2 separate regions of the Homo sapiens genome follow, and region 2 is linked to region 1. Evidence: promoter capture Hi-C in 16 types of primary human blood cells and fetal thymus (Javierre and others, 2016). All regions are on one chromosome and are shown on one strand. The core of a region is centred on a gene start or on the middle of the fragment in contact, and the rest is flanking DNA. Distances in the headings are between cores, read along the strand shown. Region 1 overlaps LOC105369313 (a long non-coding RNA gene). Region 2 holds the start of RTN4RL2 (reticulon 4 receptor like 2).

The links. The method cuts DNA at HindIII sites, captures the fragments that hold promoters and counts their contacts. A CHiCAGO score of 5 or more calls a contact.
Region 2: a contact is called between the fragment with the promoter of RTN4RL2 here and a fragment that was not itself captured in region 1, in 1 of 17 cell types (total B cells). The highest score is 5.3, in total B cells.

The regions. Positions count from the first base shown.
Region 1 is chr11:58,493,756-58,500,223 of GRCh38, forward strand. LOC105369313 (a long non-coding RNA gene) reads right to left here. Exons shown (of 5, transcript XR_007062673.1): 4 at 4,418-4,635; 5 at 181-4,249. Among named protein-coding and RNA genes, the nearest start is that of OR5B21, 11 kb to the right of the region's middle. The HindIII fragment of the contact is 6,463 bases long and covers 1,336-6,468 here.
Region 2 is chr11:57,458,926-57,465,771 of GRCh38, forward strand. It overlaps RTN4RL2 (reticulon 4 receptor like 2), which reads left to right and starts at 1,603. Exons shown (of 3, transcript NM_178570.3): 1 at 1,603-1,971. The coding sequence starts at 1,941. RefSeq lists silencers at 451-510, 1,610-1,879 and enhancers at 3,315-3,853, 4,943-5,447, 5,497-6,092. The HindIII fragment of the contact is 14,932 bases long and covers 1-6,846 here.

The DNA.
Region 1 (6,468 bases), core at 3,317-5,816:
TAAATCAGAAGAGAGTATCTTAAGTTACATATCTGTTATAAAGAACATCTCCCCGTGTCCCCAAAATATAAAGACACACTAAAAATACATATGACCCAAGGAGAGAACCCACACAAGTGTGGGTGTGATTCACAAAGTTATAAATATCACTTGCATAAAGGATGACTCAGAGAAAAATAATTTAGAAAGAGACCAAGAACATTATTTTATTAATATAATTTCTTCTGAGAGAAAAATGAGGCTGAAATATATGACACTGCTTTCCTGTTTCTCCCCAATAATGAACCCCTAAATGGGGTTGATAGGAAGAGTCTGCTATAGATCACTCCTGTTCTCAGTTACCTCTTCCATGAAATGAAAATGCTAAGAATAATATCCACCTAATAATAATATGAAAAACATTAGGTAATATTTACTGAGCTTTACTATGAGTTAGAAATCAGCCTGCAGCAATTATGTCATGAAACCTCTACAAGCCTGATGAAAAAGATACTACTGTCTTATGATTGCTACTTTAGAGATGGGAATTACAAGACTTAGAGGTATTTTAGTAATTTCTTCCAGGTTGCATCACCAGTAAATGGCAAAAACAATATTCAAAACCAAGAAGTCTGATTTCAGAAGCCACAGCCTAAATACCAGGATAAATATCTCTTGATTAAATAAGATAAAGCATGTAATAGTAAGCACTCCATATATGAAAGTGACTACTATATTTCATCTAAGTCCTGCTTCTATGCATTCTACACTATTATCCCATGCTAGTCCACACGTGGAATTTCTTTCTTGTGTTAGTATTTATTTCAGTCTGCAGGTTCTTTCCATCTCTGCTGATAGGAAGGATCAAAATTCACTTAGAGAAGATTTTTCAATTCCTAAGAAGACTTAGCATCTCTTCAGCATGCTCTGTGAATTTCAAGGCTCTTGATTGAAGCTTCTTATCCTCTATGCATCCATGTGCTCATTAAATTCTGAAACAAGGCTCATGAACCAAAAGAAAAACGGTTAAGAACCACAGCTCTGGCTCTGATGACTGAAGCATGACTTCTGTCTCTATTTATGAGGAGTTGGGGTTTGGCACTTTTCTTCCTACTTTGAGCTTTCTGTGTTCAATGCCTAATACCACTTAGATTTTCCTTCTGTCAAAGCCCTACGGAATATTGGTACCATCACATGAGTTTTAAAAAAATTCTATGTTGTTGAAAAGTCTAAAAGTTCAGAAATAATACTTAAAACATCCCCATCTGAGATTTAAGTGTTCAGTAGGCTATTAAAGATGCTGAGAAGTACTGTAGTAATGTAACAGCAAGCTGTTTAACTTACCTGCTTATGGAAAGCTTTTTCATATGTAACCCTGTTAACTCCCCATAGCATTTTGCTTGGGGAAAAAAAAAAGTAGCATTAGACAGAAGTGTGTAATCCATGAAATTCCTGGATTGTGTCCCACTGAATACAATGCATCTCAGAATTACACTCTTTGTCCATTTCATGCCAGTTTTCAGGACAGCACATATACAATTTTCCCATTTTCATAATTCTCTCTCATTAGCTTGAGTGTTCCATGAGGATACATTTTTGTCATGTTTACCTTTAAAATACCATCACACTGTCTAGAATTTATTAGTTATAAATAAACACTTCTTGAATAAATGAATTACTCAGAACCTTTTGTTTGTTTCATTGGTGGTGAATAGAGTAAACAACCGTTCCAATTTGCCCAGAATTAAGAAATTTTCTGAGATTTGGGGCTTTCAGTGAGAAAACAGATTGTTCCAGGCAAACTAGGACAAATTGGTCATGCTATGCGGTGGTGATTTTTTATTTTGTTGATTTTTGCTTTTAATTATCATATTTGTCCACTCTGTGTGTGTGTCCAGATTTTAGCTAAACACTAGCCATGAATTAGTGTGTTTACTTCTCAAAACAGCCTCAGGAAATATGTATGATTTCGTCTCCATTTCACAGATGAAGAAATCAAGGCAAAATTTTCATGCCTTGGCCACAGATACCCAGCCTTACCCTGCTGTCTGGTTCTAGAGTCTGTGCCCTCCAAAATGAATTCTGCAGGTACAGCAAAGAGCATAAGGTCACGAAATTCATCTTTGAAAATAAGAGCTCAGTAATTCACATAGAAAATAATGTGGACAAGCACAATCCATTCCCTGCTGGGTGAGATAGAATGTGAGAGAAAGAAGTCTGGAAAGCCATAATCTTAACATTAATCCAAGATGCGAGTGAATTTGAATTTGAGCTTTTAATATGTTATATACAGGCCAAGCAAGCTGAGAGCTATTTTTAGCTCTAAGTTATGAAATACAATCACATGGACAGGTGGCCTACATTTTCAGTTTTATATTTGGTGAGGAGTTTTGCAGTCAAAGTGAGAATGCCATTGCACCGACCAGGTTTGGAAAAGGCAGCTGGAGTCCTACAGATTCTGAGCATGCTGAGCAGGACAGCTAGGTGGTGGTGTGGAGTGGGAGATAGAAAATCTGGAGCCTAGACTCAACACCACCAGTCTATCTATATGACATGGGAAAAAACATTTGAGATTTCTTTTTTTTTTTTTGCCTTAGTTTTCTCATCTGAAAAAAGGTAGAACATGATGGGGAGGTAAGAATAGAGTATAAAGGGTTTGTAGGCCAGCAAAAGAGTGAATCGGTATCCTGGTTCTATCACTTAGCATCTGTATCTGAGCCTTAGTTTTACCATCTATAAAATGGGAAATCTGATTCATAAATCACAGGTTATCATTTAGTAGAAAATGATGACACTTCTTCATCTGTTTAATCCTTGATAAGTCACTTCACATATTTGGGCCTTGGTTTTATCAACTATAAAACTAGGATAATAACCTAAATGTTAACAGGGTAATTATGAGAAACAACAAAGGTGAAAATGCCCACCAGAGCTCACAGCACACACAAAACCATCAGGAAGTATTTGAGGAGGGGACAGCTTCTAAGGCTCTTTACATCTCTAGGAAATGTGAATTTTGTGCACACTAGCCACTGTTTTCTGCTTACTTCAAGAAACAAGTCTAAAGATTTAGGATCTTATCTCTGATGTTCTTAGCAACACAAATAGCAATCTTAAAGAAGGTAAAACATTATTTGGCCATCAGAAATTATCATAGAATTAAGAGTGGATGAGGACAGCAAAAGAAACAAATAGAGTAAAAAGGGCAACTTACAGAATGGGAGAAAATATTTGCAAACTATGCATCCAACAAAGGTCTAATATCCAGAATCTATAAGGGACTCAAATTAACAAGCAAAAAACAAACAGCCTCCATTAAAAAGTGGGCAAAAGACACAAACAGTTTTCAAAAGAAAACATACAGTGAACAAGCATATGAAAGATGCTTAAAATCACTGATCATTAGAGAAATGAAAATCAAAACCACAATGAGATACCATCTCACACCAGTCAGAATGGCTATTACTAAAAAGTCAAAAAATAACAGATGCTTGTGAGGTTGCAGAGAAAAGAGAATGCTTATACACTGTTGGGGGGAACATAAATTAGTTCAGCAATTGTGGAAAACAGTGTGGCAATTTCTCAAATAACTTAAAACAGAATTCTTATTTGACCCAGCAATCCTATTACTGGGGATATGCCAGGAGGAATATAAATAGATCTGTCATAAAGACACATATACGCATATGTTCATTGCAGCACTATTCACAAGAGCAAAGACATGGAATCAACCTAAATGCCTATCAACAGTAGACTGGATAAAGAAAATGTGACACATATAACCTATGGGATAATATGCAATCATAAAAAGAAACAAGATCATGTTCTTTGCAGCAACATGGATGGAGCTGGGGGCCATTATCCTGAGTGAACTAACACAGGAACAGAAAACCAAATATCACATGTTCTCACTTGTGAGAGCTAAACATTTGAACACAAAGAATGGAACAAAAGACACCAGGGCCTACTTGAGGGTGAAGGGTGAGAAGGAGGAAGAGGGCTGAAAAACTACTTATCAGGTACTATGCTTATTACCTGGGTGACGAAATAATTTGTACACCAAACCCCCATGACACACAATTTACCTATATAACACACCTGCACATGTACCACTGAACTTAATAAAATAAAGTAAAACAAAGTAACTATTTCATACAGGGAAAAAACAGCAAATGAAGAGATCTCTCAGATTAGATTCATTGGGAAATAGACTCTGAGACTGAGATCTGTGTGCAGATGGCTCTCCAGGAAGGACTCTCAGGAACAGCATCTGTAAGGGAGAGATGGCAGCAGAATTAGAGAGAGGGAGAAATTGTGCTGCAATGCAGTCTCAATAAAGGCCTCAGCCAATCCTTTAGGGTGCTTGGGAGCTGAGATGGCTCTTGGGAGCTGTGTCAAGGAAACAGGACAAGCAGGGGCAGGCCTTCATACTACTCACTGGCCAATCTTGGATGACACTTCTACAGCTGTTTAATCTTCACCTGGAGCCATAACCTCAGGGGAGGTGGCTCCCATTGACTGAAGGAAATTCTTCGAAGGATTTCAGCTAGGAGATCCAGGTAGCACACAATCACATCCACTATCATAGACACTATTGTTTACATAAGATGCGCTTGGAATTGAAGAGAGAAATCTGACGAGCAGCCAACGAGGGACCTAAAAAGAAGTGGTTGTTGCAATTAACTTGAAAGTCAGCATACTGGCTCCTGGACACAACGTTGTCCAGCTTTAGCCAGGCTCATACATTATTCAGATAAAAAGTGACCATTATCTGAACAGAAAATCAGTAATGTGTTTATAAGGACAAACGTGTTTGTAAGAAAAATGTTTCTGACTCTATCAAAAACATTAAGCAAACTAAATGTGTGCTCATACACACAAAAGGGGTTGTGGCCGCCAGCCAGAGCAGCTGTGGTGTGTGAGGTGGTATGCAGAGTTAGAATACTGCACAAAGTCTCACTCTGTCACTTCCTGGATGTGAGAATTCAGAGACCACTTCTCCTCCCCAGGCCTCAACTTCCTAGTCAGTAACATGCAACAGGGGAACAAAAACAGCCCTAAGATCTCTTTCATCCTATGTACCAATAATTCCAGATGTTTATTACTATTGTTAGCAAGAACAAAAATAATTAAAAATGGATGCCTTGGTAGTTGCTTCATTTTCTGCTAAGTTAAATTTTGTGGCAGTGTTTCCTCTGCATTATTCATTTCCTGATAATTTTTTATAACACTTTTTGGTTTTTATTGAAATGTTGTGGACCTCTCTTTTATTATTGAGGGTGCTTTATTCCCCATACTCTTTAACATTTATAATTTTGTGAGGTCAGTGACTTCTCTCTTGTTCACTCTACTGTCCATGGAAGAGTATCTCTCACAAGCTAGAGGTATCAGTTATGTTTCATTATAGACACCAGTTCAGGCTAACTTGAAGGGAAACAAAAGAGGTAATTGAAAGGATATCAAGAGGTTTGCAGAATCAAAAGGAAACTGGGCAAAATGCAGGAACCAGGAGCACTTCAGAGGGCTAAGGAACAGAAGTCGGAAGCAAAGAACCATGTCATGTCTGGAATGGCCCCACCAACATTTCCCTGCTATAGCAAATGAGCTCCAAGCCTTGATGCTTCTTTCCATCCCTTGCAGATTCAAATTTAGGGGAGTGAGAACTTTTTGTTGGCTGAGCTTAGGACTCATGCCTGCCTCTCTATATACCTCCATGAATCTCTCTGTATAGATTTCTCTTCCTTAGGGGGCAGGGAAGGAAAGGTTATCCTTGCCTCAGCTTCCATAGACTTGTGGGTGGAGAGGGTACAGGAACTAGACACTCTTCTCCCACCAATCTATTCTCCAAGAAAGAGATCATTCTCCAAGAAAGTCACGATATTTTAAGCAGGAAAATGGATTCTGGATACACAGAATACCAATATTTGCTAGAGCAGGTGCTCAAATAATGTTTTAGGTGGATATGTGCTCATACATAAAATGCTGAAAATTTCCTCTGAAGCAAACAAGTGCTTTACTTTAACATAGGTGCATAAGGAAAGCTGTTTTAAATATTCTTCTACAGCAGTTGAGATTCTGCCTTATCTCCGACGTCTATGTGCATGATGTCCAGAACTTCTTTATTGAAGTTTGAATCTATAGCTTAAATTTGAAAACCTCAATTTGAAAGATAATATCCCTACTGTTGGGCACCAGTGTATCATTCCAAACTTATTTTCCATTACTTCTCTCCACAGATATTACACTTCAGCCAAACAGACACTATTTGTGAAATATATCTGAATAATTTCTATTTTACTGTATCTCTCTTTCTTGTCCAGAGCAAAGTTATCTTCCTCAATTCCCCACCCTAGAATCTACCCTTCAACTATTACTATAGCATTTTATATGTATCTCTTGTTGGTTTTTATTATTTTCTACACAGAATTAAAGTTACTTATGTATAGGTCTTATCTCCCCTTTAGTTTTTTTTAAATAAACTTATTGAAT
Region 2 (6,846 bases), core at 353-2,852, 1.0 Mb before region 1:
GGGAGGCAGAGACACCGAGACACACAGAGACGAGAGACAGAGACGCAGGGAGCCCCGCGGGGAGGAGGAGAGAGACGAAGACACAGAGAGACAGTGAGAAAGACAGAAGACCGGGCAGGGAAACAGACGAGTAGAGACAGAAAAGGTCCGAGAGAGAGTGAGGGAGGGAGGGAACAGAGAGACAGAGACCACGAAATATGAGTAAGAGTCGGGGGAGAAAACCAGAGAAATCGAATGAGAACGCGAGAAGAACGAGAGACCGTGGAGGGAGCAGAGAATGAATGGGAAGAATAAGACCAACATTTATCAAGAGCCGACTGTATGCCAGGCACTGCATTGGACCCTGGCACGGATAGGAAAGGAGGAGCCGCGGCGCGGGCAGCGGGGCGAGGGGCTTCTGTGCTCGCGGGAGCGGCAGCCCAGGGGGCTCAGCAGCCCCGGCACCGCCGCACCTGAGGCTCCAGCAGCCCCAACCCCGCCAGCGCTGCCTGGCCACCGTACCCGAAGCGGCTCCCCCGAGGGCCCCGAGCCTATCCTACGCCGGGGCGGCTCCGCGGACGCGCCGGGCCGAGTCAAGACCTGGGTCAACCGCCCTGCAGCCTTTGTAGGGAAGTGCCTAGGTGATGGGTCTGCTGATACCGCCTGTGACCAGGCCATGAAGGGCCAGAGGGGCTCCAGTGAGACCATAATCCGCCCCTCTTTAAAAGGGGGTAGAGGAAGTTCACGCGAAGCCAACAGTCTTCTCCCCAGCTTTGGGTCCTCTCCTGCACCCCCGCGGGAGATAAGGTCTCCCCTCCCGGACACATCATACATACACAAAAAAACGCACACACTCGCACGCGCGCCCATCTCGCACCCGCTTGTAAATGCACTAAGGGGCATACACACACCGGGCACATATTTCTTTCCACCCATCCCCAAGATCGCAAGCGCAAAACCTCGCACAGCCTCACGTTTCCCACCAGCTCAGACATGCACGCTGGCGGACTTTCAGCGGCTCACCCGTGTGCACACTCACGTGCCCCCCCCCCCGCTTCCCCAAGCCCGTACAAAGGGTAACGGGCAAGCATCCTGAGTCACACCTGCACAAGCATCCTTGCGCGCACGTGCACGCTCATATGCACTCGATCTTGCACGCACAAACTCTTGCATATACTATTCTTATAGTCGCACACTGGGCTTGAGGTCTGGGAGTGGAAGGAAAAGTGGAATCTTGGAGCTGTCCCAGGGGACAGAAATGCTGGAGGCTGGGACACTGGCGCGAGGGACGCGGCTGGGGGCGGGGGAGGGGGTGACCCAGAAGCTCATCTTCTCCTGGAAAGTTGGGAGGGGGGAACAGGACAAGTCCACGGCGTTCCTCTAAACTACCGCATTCCCCCAAGAAGGGATTTCTCTAGAAGAGTGGCGCCGCGAGGACGATCGAACACAGTCCTCCGGGTCGCTTAAGCGGGGGGGAGGGGGGCGGGGTGGAGGGGGTTAGAAAGCCGCTCCCGCCTCCTAGTGGTCGAGAAAGGGTTAAGTCGGCAAGCCAGCAAACGAGGGAGGAGCCAGCGAGTGCGGGAAGGAGTGGGGGTGGTTGGGAAGAGCTTCCTCGCTGTCCCCACTCTCCCTCGGCTAGCAGCCTGGGCACACGGACAGACGGACTGACGGACTCTCGAGCGGACAGCGCAGCTAGCGGGGCGCGGGCGCTGGGCGTCGACGGCCAGCCCCAGCCTTCCCCGCCCCGTCGCGCCCCGCCCCGTCCCGTCGGGGCCGATGGCTCCTCCCGAGGCCCGCAGCCCGGGCGGCGCAGGGTAGAGCGCCGCGGCCCGGCCACGCAGCCCGGGGACTCCCGGGCCCTCCCGGAGCCCCGCGGGGTCCCCGCCGTGCATCCGGCGGGCTCAGGGAGCGAGTGGGAGCGCCCTCCCCCCGCTGCCCCCTCCCCCGAGCATCGAGACAAGATGCTGCCCGGGCTCAGGCGCCTGCTGCAAGGTAAGAACGCCAGCGGCGGGAGAGCGGAGGGCATCCTGGGGAGAGAAGCAGGGCGTCCCCTCTTTCAGGGATTGAGGGTGGGGCAGTTGGGGAGGTGGGGTAACCTGGGGAAGGGGAAAAGCTCAGCGCTGGGGCCGCGCCCCCGCCGCCAGGGCTGTTCTCAGCAGGAGGGCACTTGGCTGGGAGCCCGCGGGCGCGTGCGAGGAGCTCGTGACCGAGGTGGGACGCAGGGGGCAGGTGGACCCGGCCCGGAGCGGGGAGGGAGGCTCAGGTTCCGCTGTCCCCGCTCCACCTGCTCCGGGGGACGCTGAGGACTCGGGCCGGCTGGGGAAGCGCCGACTCAGCAACTCCTCCTGCCCGGTGCCTCAGCACTTTCTGGCCACCTGGGAAGACAGGAGATGTGGGTAGGGGGCTGTCTGGGGAGGTAGGAGGCGCAGAGGGAAATCCAAGTGGCCCTCTCTGGTAGGAGAGATGGAGGGCGCTAGAAAGAGGATAGTTCTACTGATTGAGTGACAGATAAGGGTGTGGGCCAGAGACTGGGGGTGGGGTGGGGAGGGGTCAGGGGGAGAGGGATAGGAAGGAGAACTCAAAGATGGAGAAAGTGGTGAGGGAAGCTCAAAGGAGGAGGGAGATGGAGCGGGGGAGGGGGAGAAGGAATAAAGGTTAGATGGGAAAAGCGTGGAGGGAAGTGGGACCCAGGTGAAGACCAAGGAAGAGGGAAGGAGAGGAAAGACCAGATCAGGGGAGGGATGGGAAGAAGACTATGGACAGGGACCCAGAATCCTGGGATGGAGGTAGCGGGAAAGAGAATCAGGACTGGGACCCTGGGGACTGGAATGGAAAAGGAGAATGGAAAGATCAGAAACCAGAGAAGGATGGGGATGGTGACTAGAGAAGGGGTATCAGGAACCGGCGAAGAGGGTTGGAGACAGGGAACCATGGATGGGAGAGGGGCTGGAGAGGAGGGAAGAGGAGGAGGAAGAGAAAGGCTGAGAGAGAGGGACTGGGGATTGGGGGTGCTGCCCAGGGATGAGACAAAGAGGCTTCTGGTAACCACTTCCACGTGGGAAGCCCTCCATTCCCAAAGCGCCTGCCTGCCACATTTCTTCTCTCAGGGAGTGGCTGGTGGGCCAGATGGGGGGTGCTTTGAGCTCAGGGCCCTGGGGGTGGCTGTGAGGGACAGAGGGTGAGGACTTTGGAAGGGGAGTGACAGCCTCCGAGGGTGGGCAAACAGGCTGGCTCCTGTGCTGCCATTTATTTATCCGGCCTGGACGTTGGATTCTGCAGCCGCTGCCGCCACCACGGTGGCTGCTTATTTTGGGGTGTTACATTCTGGCAGAGTGAGAAGCTGTTTGCAGCAGCTCTAAACCTCCGTCACCCGCGTCAGTGCCTCCCCAGGCCCCTGCGTCACTGGCATCACCACCACCTCCATCCCACTCCTCAGCTCCCACCTCCTCAGCCCCTGCCCCCTCAGCATCTGCCCGCAGGCCCCAGCCCTTCCCTGAAGCAGCCCGTTGGGTGTGGAGCCCTTGCTTCTCGTCTGGGACCCTGTGCCCCTCCTTCCAGAGCGAGAGGCCTCTGCTGCCTTTCCAGGGAGCATCCTTTCCTGGGACCACTCTGCACCAGCGACTCTGCCCTGTGGGTGGGTAGCCTGGATCCTGCCCCCTACTTTGGGTCCAGTTTTCTTCTCCTCAAGTTCCTTCTTCTACAGGGGCCTCCGGCCCAAAGAGTGGCCTGTGGGCTGAGAACTTTGTTTCTGAGCCTTGGTACTCCAAGGTTTGATAGCCAGAGTCCTGGACAGTGGTCCCTCAGTGAACAGATACTTTTGGCTCTGGACACTTCAGCCTTCCGGGATCAATACCATGTTCTGGCCTCTCTTGGCTCCCTCCCCTGGTCAGTTCTGGCCATATATTCTGGACAGGGGTCATCTCTTCTTGACTCCCACATGTAATCACTACTCTAGAACAACCGCAACTGGAAGCCTAGGAGGTGAAAGTTGCAGAGAGAGCTGGAGTCCCTTCCTTGCCTTGACCCTGAATAGCCAAACAGACTCAGCATTGTGGCTGGCCCAGCCCTAGGCACCTGGGTGCAATTTCTCTCCTGTCTTTACCTCAAGGGCAGTGTCTCACACATTCAGGCGTGGTTTCTGCGGAGGATGTGGCCACCTCTTAAAGAAAGATCAGAGTGTCTCTCTGACATGGGCTTGATGTCCCTCTTTTCCAATCTGGGTTCCACCTTGTACTAGCTGCATGACCTGAGGCCACTGTGTCATGTTTCTGGGGCTCCCTTCCTTCATCTGCAAATTGGGGGCCACAATATTGACCTCCAGGGGATTATGTGTGTTGTGTTCAATGTATAAAGAAGTTAACCTGTACAAATGCAGTGCCTAGGACAAAATAGGTGCTTCTTGGTTTCCTCCTACCCTGCTGTACTCTCCCCTGCAGCTCTAGCCATCCCCTGCTGACTTTAGAGGAGGGGGTGAGCAGAGAGGGTGGGGGAGGCTGCTACAAAGGGCTTTCCTCTGTCCATGAAGTAGTGGAGGGATGAAATGAAGGCTTCTGAGAAAGACAATGAAGGCGAGCTGTAGAGACCTGGTCAGGAGGCCTGGGGTGCTCAGAAACTCACACTTCCCCTCCCCAGCCCTCAATGGTGTTACCTATGATGTGAGGGGTCGGCTCTAGGTGGCCACCGAGGTATCCCCCTTTCCAGCTCTGATACTCTGTGCATCTTGCCCCAGTCTCCACCGGGAATTCACAAAATGAAGGCCAGGAGTGGAGCCGTGGTCCTCGGGAGAGACAGGAGGCCTGGGCCTGGAGGGAAGGAGTGGTGGTGCTGAGGAGGAGTGAGAACAGGGGGTGGGGAAGGGACGTGGCAAGAAAGAAAAGGGCACACACTGGGCAGGGCAGGGACTGAGGGCGGGGGAGAGAGGGAAAGGCACAGCTCTCTAGTCCCCCAACCCCCCAGTCCCACCACCTCTGCCCTGGAGTGCTCGCTCCAGCCCCAGCAGGCCTGGGGCAGTGAAGCCCAGAGCCCCCTCCCCTCCCCTCCTCCTTGCCTCCAGTGAGAGCCGCTGCGTGAATTATGGATGAGCTCCTTGGGTTACAGCTGCTTTGCACGGCAGTGGCAAGGGCCAGAAATGGCAACAGAGTCACTGTTATGCAGCAGCTGTTATGGAGGAGCCCCCAGCACGGGGTCGCTCTTCAGAGAGCCTGCAGGGACCACTATCATGGGCTGGGGGAGGTGAGCCCTGGTTGGGGGAGACATGGGAACAAGATGGAAGGAGAGTGGGGAAAGAGAAGAGAAGTAGTCTAATGTGGGCAGGTGGGGAGCAGGAGAGTCTAGGGAGAGAAAGAGGAGTAGGCACCCTTGCCAGCTCCTGCAGAGTTTACCCTCAAGGCCGGAAGGAACCCTGATGCCAGGGGAATGGGCCTTGCCTCTGAGATTGCACATCCTTCCCTCTGTCTCTCCTGGGGCAGCGGTCAGTCCGGAGGCTGGGGGAAAGCTCTGTAATCCTCCAGGGGCTAGCGGCCATCAGGGCTCACACTCTGGTGAGCTTGTGGATAAGGGGTAGGATTAAGGGATCAGAGAAGGATTTGGCTTCTTTTGGTGTCAAGTCCTTAGGGAAGTGGAGATCAGAGGGTGACTCTGATAGGAAGGGAAGTGCCCTGGCTGGGCATCAAGAGACTTTTCTGGCCCTTTCCCTGCCAACACTTTGCTGTGTGACCTTGGGTAAGTCGCTTGCTCTCTCTGAGCTCCAGTCATCACCTCAGTAGAACTGATGCTTGAACCAGAGGAATCGAGGGGACCTTTGCGGCTTTGAAATCTCCAGTTCTAAGCCCCAAACCTCAACCCTCATGAAACCCACTCAGGGTCCCCACTGTGCTTCCACACTCCACCTCTGCCTGGTTCAGATGAGGGGTGAGAGACATTGCTCCTCCACCCCACGTGGGTCTAAGAAACTCGGGAGGAGAAAGTAATCGTGAAACGCCGCACGGGGGAGGGGTGAGAAGGGCCGAGAAACGCGGAGGTGGTGTGAACGAATGGAACAGCAGCCGCTGTGTCACTGAGTATTACATCACACCCAGCCTACACACGCACGGGGCCCGGCGCTCACACACACGCGGAGGACAGCCAGCACGCACCGACGCAGCACCGACGCAGCGCCAGGAGGGGCCGGGGACACTCACGGTGGGGCCCAAAAGCGAGGAGCAGCACACTGGGAGTGTGGATCTTCCACCCCGCACCTGTGTGCTCCCCCCTCTGGAGGAGGAACACCAGGGCAGCTGGGATGCCAGCGCCACACTCGGGGCCTGTCAGTCCCATGCGTGCACACCTGGCTGAGCAGCACTGCATTTGGTGAGCACCTGGCTCACGCCACTACCCAAAATCACAGATACATACACACATTCACGCACACGGCAACCTCAGGAGCGTGACACAACACACACAAAACCACCACTAAGCAAGTGCAATTTGCAGCCTTGGAGACCCCACACTCAAAATCACCAACCCCTCAGTCTCTCCCAGGGTCTCTGAACCCCAAGGAGCCCCAGGATGTCAGAGTGCAGAAACAAGTCTTCCTCCCCTCTGCCTTCAAAAGCCTAGGACGTTGCTTGAAGCAGAAGGTGTTCAGTCACTGTGTGCCCAGGGAATGACTGCCTGGCTTTGGGGGTGCAGGCTCCCTTTTTCCCCAGGCAAAACTGCCAGAAGAAAATCCCAGGAGTCACCTGGAAATCATAAGAAAGTGTAGAGGTCAAGCTAGTTCCGGCCTAGAACTTTATCAGCTATAGTGACGGCAAAGGCCAGGGATGATGGGAGGCCCTGCACCCCTATTAAAATATGAGTACAGACACCTGCACTCCACTCTCTAGCCCC